Linked DNA regions of Homo sapiens: region 2 is linked to region 1. Evidence: promoter capture Hi-C in 16 types of primary human blood cells and fetal thymus (Javierre and others, 2016). All regions are on one chromosome and are shown on one strand. Each heading gives the region's core, a stretch centred on a gene start or on the middle of the fragment in contact. The rest is flanking DNA. Distances are from core to core; before and after follow the strand shown.

The links. Contacts are between HindIII fragments. The CHiCAGO score rates a contact against its expected background, and 5 or more counts as called.
Region 2: a fragment that was not itself captured here is called in contact with the fragment with the promoter of SLC27A3 in region 1 in 1 of 17 cell types (activated CD4 T cells); the score reaches 5.6 in activated CD4 T cells.

The regions. Positions count from the first base shown.
Region 1 is chr1:153,773,805-153,777,016 of GRCh38, forward strand. SLC27A3 (solute carrier family 27 member 3) reads left to right here and starts at 1,603. Exons shown (of 10, transcript NM_024330.4): 1 at 1,603-2,360; 2 at 2,714-2,923. The coding sequence starts at 1,694. It overlaps INTS3 (integrator complex subunit 3), which reads left to right. Exons shown (of 30, transcript NM_023015.5): 30 at 1-1,004. RefSeq lists an enhancer at 2,004-2,670 and a silencer at 2,039-2,230. The HindIII fragment of the contact is 7,576 bases long and covers 1-3,212 here.
Region 2 is chr1:154,113,901-154,117,537 of GRCh38, forward strand. All of the region lies in intron 12 of NUP210L (nucleoporin 210 like), which reads right to left. Among named protein-coding and RNA genes, the nearest start is that of MIR5698, 11 kb to the left of the region's middle. The HindIII fragment of the contact is 216 bases long and covers 1,168-1,383 here.

The DNA of each region.
Region 1 (3,212 bases), core at 353-2,852:
AATCATGGGGCAGATGCCACAAGCATTCAGAAAGGAGTCTGAAAGGGTGGCCACAGCCCCACGTGGTGTGCCCTGGAGGCTTAGGTTGGTCTGAGGTTGGCACCTCAATCTACACCAGAGCCCAGGGAGTCCCAGAGGCAAGTTTCACAGAATTGTCAAATGATCCCATTTCCTTGAGTCTGTTTTTTTTTTTGTTTTTTTTTGTTTTTTTTTTGGCAGAGATAATCGTGTCTTAAAAGTTGTTTTTAAATGACAATAAAACAAGCCAGAATGTCTTTTGTGCTGGAGTGTCTGCTGGCATTTGCCCCGTGCATGTATAGCTTGGTCTTGATTTGATTGGCACCCCTACTTGTAACCGCAGAACATCCCCCTTTCCCTTCCTGTTCTGCCCCCACTTTTGTCTAGAGCAGAAGGGACTTGGCTTTGGCCACTACCCATCCTTCCTGCTGCCACTGGAGGTGGGAGCCAGGCACTGATCTGTCTATGCAGAACCATCCCCCGTAGGATGAGGCCTGTCCTTACTCATTTCTCAAGAAACAAGATGCTTCCAAAAGGTCTGTCATCCTCCAGTTGAAGTCTGTGTGCCTACCAAGAATGGCCGGAGGACTCGCTGCTTGACGGGAGGGATGCTCCAGCTTGGTCTCCAGGGACAACTGTACCTGGAGATAAAGTCTGGATACCAGGGAGGGACAGAGATGCTCTTCCTTCCACAGTGTGGCCACTTGCTGGGCCATGTGAACCAGCAGAGGAGAGTTCCTTGGCTATGCTGTTGTTCCCCCGCTGTCCAGGGAGAATGGAGGTGGACTGAGGAGTGAAGTTTGGGCGAACTGCACAGAGCTGCTCCTCTTCACCCCGAAAATTTGTCTTTTTACAGAATCCAGGTTCTCCCCTCCCTCATCACTGCTGTTGCTTCCTTTGAAAGTCTAAACCACTGGAGGCTTCTTTTTCCTTCCTCTCTCCTTCCCCAGTTTCCTCTGTCCCAATTAAAACCAGGATGGAGAGCATTTGCTGGCTGGCCCCAATTATTGTACCCTTGCCCAAAGGGAGGGGCCTCTGTCGTGACCCCTCAGAAATCTGGCAGTCTGGGTTTCCACCTTTCCCCTATTTAACTCTCAGCCCCCACCCATCCCCTGGGGTTGCGGCTGGCAGGCCGGGACTTGCAGAACCAAATGGGCCAGGGGCCAAGTTCATTCTTTTGGGAGAGAGCAATGGTACCTTCCCTTAACGGGAAAACGAGAAATATTGAGGGGAAGATGGACTGCGATCCAAACGCCCTGGCTCTCAGGCCTGGACTCTAGGGCTTAGCCAGATGCCTAAACCGCCCAAGCCGAGAAACAACTTAGAAGACAGACATAACCCTGGGATTCAGGGAAGGCGCGAGCACCGCCCAGGACCTGGTAGGGTGCGAGCCGCGAGCAGTCCGGGAGGGAGCGCGCCTAGGGCGGAGCGTAGGCTGTGGGGGGAGGGCTGGGAGTCCGGGGCCGCCCCACACCCGCACTCCTCCCGGGTTTCTGCTCTCCGCCCGTGTGGAGTGGTGGGGGCCTGGGTGGGAATGGGCGTGTGCCAGCGCACGCGCGCTCCCTGGAAGGAGAAGTCTCAGCTAGAACGAGCGGCCCTAGGTTTTCGGAAGGGAGGATCAGGGATGTTTGCGAGCGGCTGGAACCAGACGGTGCCGATAGAGGAAGCGGGCTCCATGGCTGCCCTCCTGCTGCTGCCCCTGCTGCTGTTGCTACCGCTGCTGCTGCTGAAGCTACACCTCTGGCCGCAGTTGCGCTGGCTTCCGGCGGACTTGGCCTTTGCGGTGCGAGCTCTGTGCTGCAAAAGGGCTCTTCGAGCTCGCGCCCTGGCCGCGGCTGCCGCCGACCCGGAAGGTCCCGAGGGGGGCTGCAGCCTGGCCTGGCGCCTCGCGGAACTGGCCCAGCAGCGCGCCGCGCACACCTTTCTCATTCACGGCTCGCGGCGCTTTAGCTACTCAGAGGCGGAGCGCGAGAGTAACAGGGCTGCACGCGCCTTCCTACGTGCGCTAGGCTGGGACTGGGGACCCGACGGCGGCGACAGCGGCGAGGGGAGCGCTGGAGAAGGCGAGCGGGCAGCGCCGGGAGCCGGAGATGCAGCGGCCGGAAGCGGCGCGGAGTTTGCCGGAGGGGACGGTGCCGCCAGAGGTGGAGGAGCCGCCGCCCCTCTGTCACCTGGAGCAACTGTGGCGCTGCTCCTCCCCGCTGGCCCAGAGTTTCTGTGGCTCTGGTTCGGGCTGGCCAAGGCCGGCCTGCGCACTGCCTTTGTGCCCACCGCCCTGCGCCGGGGCCCCCTGCTGCACTGCCTCCGCAGCTGCGGCGCGCGCGCGCTGGTGCTGGCGCCAGGTAAGGCTGGAGCTCCGAACTGACTAAGGCGGGGCCAGCCACAGAAGGGGGCGTGTCGGAGACCACAGAAAGGCTTGGTCTCATCCCTGGGCCTGGGAAGAAGCCGACTATCCCTTGGGGTTCGAAAGTGGGTGGAGATAGGAGTCTCCGGGTTTGAGAAGGGATGAGGCTGAATCTTTGGTGCCCCAAGGATCCCCAAGGAGTCGAGTTCCAGGCCTCAGACCCAAGATGGAATGTCCATACCCTTCACCCTCATCCAAGAGCAGTGTGGGCTGGGATAGGGAGGGGACATGGGTCATAGGCTCTTCTAGGTAGAGCCAGGGCCCCGGCGTTGTGCTTTCCCACCCTTCTAGAGTTTCTGGAGTCCCTGGAGCCGGACCTGCCCGCCCTGAGAGCCATGGGGCTCCACCTGTGGGCTGCAGGCCCAGGAACCCACCCTGCTGGAATTAGCGATTTGCTGGCTGAAGTGTCCGCTGAAGTGGATGGGCCAGTGCCAGGATACCTCTCTTCCCCCCAGAGCATAACAGACACGTGCCTGTACATCTTCACCTCTGGCACCACGGGTGAGGGCCGGGCACCATACTTAGCTCCCCGAAACCAAGGCAGAGGAAGGCAGGGGTCTGCTCCCAGACCACTCCTTCAAAGCCCCCAGAGAGGATGCTGATTTCATTGGCACATCCTTTTTCTCCCCATCATTTCACTCCCCAGTCTCCTCACCTCCTACTCATTTCTCCACCTCCCCCAGACCACCCATATTTCCAGGACAGCCTGGTCTCGGTCCTCAGCTTCTGTCCTGCCTCCGCCTCTTTCTGTGGGAAACCCAGCGGGGGTGCAAACAGATAGGTAGAGCTT
Region 2 (3,637 bases), core at 26-2,525, 340 kb after region 1:
CTGTAATCCCAGCACTTTGGGAGGCCGAGTTCAGAAGTTCAAGACCAGCCTGGCTAACATGGTGAAACCCCGTCTCTACTAAAAATACAAAAATTAGCTGGGCGTGGTAGTGGGCGCCTGTAATCCCAGCTACTCGGGAGGCTGAGGCAGGAGAATTGCTTGAACTCGAGAGGCGGAGGTTGCAATGAGCCAAGATCGCACCACTGCACTCCAGCCTGGGCAACAGCGCAAGACTCCATCTCAAAAAAAAAAAAAAAATTTGCCAGGCGTAGTGGTACACGTCCCAGCTACTTGGAAGGCTGAGGTGGGAGGATTGCTTGAGGTCAAGGCTGGAGTAGGCCACGATTGTGCCACTGCATTGAACCTGGGCAACAGAAACCCCATCTCAAAAAAATTAATAAATAAAATAAAATAAAATCTTTTATTTTGTCATTTTTGCCACTTTCTATGTTTCTTCTGCTAGTTCCTCTTCCTATGTTTCTTAAAGTGACATTTACATTACACAGGATCCATATGTTCTTCCTGGGAAAACTTATCCAGTCCCAAAGCTTCAGTGACTAACCATATGCAAACTCTCCAGCCCTAATCTTTCAGTTGAACTTCAGACCCCTATTTCCAATTAAAAACATCCACTTAGATGCTCCATAGGTGAATTACGCTAAATGTATCCAAAACTAAATTCATCATCTTTTCCATTTTTTTGTATTTTCTTTTCTTTTTTTAAAGACAGGGTCTCACTCTTGCCTAAGCTAGAGTGCAGAGGCGTGATCATAGTTCACCGCAACCTCAAACTCCTGGCCTCAAGCGACCCTCCTGCCTCAGTAGCTAGGACTACAGGCATGTGCCACTATGCCTGGTTAATTTTTTTTTTAAGAGATGGGGGGGGGGGTCTTGCTTTGTTGTCCAGGCTGGTCTCGAACTCCTGGCCTCAAGCCACTCTCCTGCCTTGGCCACTCAAAGGTGTTGGGATTACATGTGTAAGCCACCACTCCCAGCCTCTTGTATTTTCTATCCACCCCGCTGGCAAAGTGAGAAACCTCCACATCATCTCTGTGGCTTTAAATGTTTAACTCTTCCCTGCTCAATCAAATCGGATTGATTTACCTGTTAAAAAAGATTATCATTTGGTCCATTTCCTGCTATTCTCAATACCATCTCACTAGTTCAAGCTTAACTGAAGTTTTTGCCTTCACTTTCTCCCTTCAATCCATTCTAATCTACTAGTCTATAGCACCAGCAAGTATCTTTTGTTTTTTAGTATAATGGCTGTTATTGTCTGATTATAAAAATAATTAGATATCTTTCAGAACAGAGACCTTACCATACCATTGACCTGTTAAAAGCCTGTATTGGTTCCCCATTGTCTACAGCAAGGATTGGCAAAGCTTTCTGTAAAGAGCTAGATAGTAAACATTTTAGACTTATTGAGGCTACACAGTCTCCGTGGTAACTACTAACTCAGCAGCTGTGGCTTGAAAGCAGCCACAGACAATATGTAAATGAATGGGAGTAGCTGTGTTCTGAAAAAAGTTTATTTACCAAATAAGGAAGCACTCTAAATTTGACCTTTGGGCCTTACTTTTATTCCATCCTCCAAAAGTCTTATTGAAGTTCCCACCTCTTTCATAATAGTCTCTGATAGTCCCATACACAAGGATTTCTCTTTTACAAACTAATAGCACTTACTGTACAATTCAAGTAGTTCTCAGTCATACAGGGCTTTAAATATCTCACATATCATTTTCTTAAAATGTTATTTGACTTTTTTCATGTCAATATATCTTCCTAGTTATACTTTAAATACTTTAAGATAGGGATCATGTGTTATGTATCTCTGAATGTCCAATAATACCTACGAGATAATAAATGTTCACTGAGTGATGGCAAACTATTAAGTCCTATAGAGAACAGCAACATATATTAAAAATGGGGCTGGGGCTGGGCGCAGTGGCTCATGCCTGTAATCCCACCACTATGGAAGGCCGGGGTGGGCGGATCACTTGAGGTCAGGAGTTCGAGATCAGCCTGGCCATAATGGTGAAACCCCGTCTCTACTGAAAATACAAAAAATTAGGCCGGGCGCGGTGACTCATGCCTGTAATCCCAGCACTTTGGGAGGCCGAGGCAGGTGGATCACGAGGTCAGGAGATAGAGACCAGCCTGGCTAGCACGGTGAAACCCCATCTCTATTAAAAATACAAAAAATTGGCCGGGCATGGTGGCACATGCCTGTAGTCCCAGCTACTCGGGAGGCTGAGGCAGGAGAATGGGGTGAACCTGGGAGGCAGAGCTTGCAGTGAGCCAAGATCGCACCACTGCACTCCAGCCTTGGCGACAGAAAGAGACTCCATCTCAAAAAAAAAAAAAAAAAAAATTAGTTGGGTGTGTTGGCGGGTGCCTGTAGTCCCAGCTACTCAGGAGGCTGAGGCAGGAGAATTGCTTGAACCTGAAAGGCGGAGGTTGCAGTGAGCTGAGATCACGCCACTGCACTCCAGCCTGGGCAACAGAGTGAGACTCCATCTCAGGGAAAAAAAAAAAAAAAATGGGGCTGGGTACAGTGGCTCACACCTGTAATCCTTGCACTTTGGAAGGCCAAGACAGGAGGATCACTTGAGGCCAGGAGTTTGGGACCAGCCTGGGCAACACAGTGAGACCCTGTCTCTACAAAAATAATAAATTAACTGTGTGGGGTGGTGCATATCTGTAGTCCTGGCTACTTGGGAGGCCAAGGCGGGAGAACTGCTTGAGTCCTAGGAGTTTGAGGCTGCAGTGAGCTATGATCATGCCATTGCCCTCCAGTCTGGGCAACAGAGCAAGACTCAGTCTCAAAAAAAGAAAAAATAAAGGAGAAAAATAGGAAAATGGTTACATAATATACTAAAAAAGAGTTTTCAATCTTTTAGTAACAGATTGACAAACCAAAATATGACACTAGAGATAAAGTTACTATAAAGGCCATTTAAAAATCATATGTATAACTATAACAAAAAAGTTAACGTTAATTAAATATTAAATATATGCCAAGCACTGGAGTAAACACTATCTCATTTAATCCTGACAATAAAGACTATACTTTCAGTGATCATGTCTATAGTTCATTACAAGGGAAGTTTCTCTGAACTTGTAGAGCACTGTAACAAATGCTCAAAATGTTACCTATTACTGTTTTCAGTTTTACATGTGTTTTTATAATTAGTATAATAAATACAGAATGCATTTCATCATTTTTTTCCTCAAATTTTCCAGTTAAAAACATTTTTCAATAATTCTGATAATAACCTTCGAGGTGGATACTAACATCATCCTATGAGGAAACAAACATAGATGTTAAATAAGTGACTATTAAGTGAAGCAAGATTCAACCTAGTTATAGAAATATTTTTAAAATATGTATTTCTGGCTGGGTGCAGTGGCTTATGCCTGTAATCCCAGCACTTTGGGAGGCCGAGGCAGGCAGATCACCTGAGGTCAGGAGTTTGACACCAGCCTGGCCAACATGGAGAAACCCCACCTCTACTAAAAATACAAAAATTAGCCAGGTGTGGTAGTGGGCACCTGTAATCCCAGCTACTCAGGAGGCTGAGCCAGGAGAATTACTTGAACCGGGGAGGCAGAGGTTGCAGTGAGTGAGCTGAGA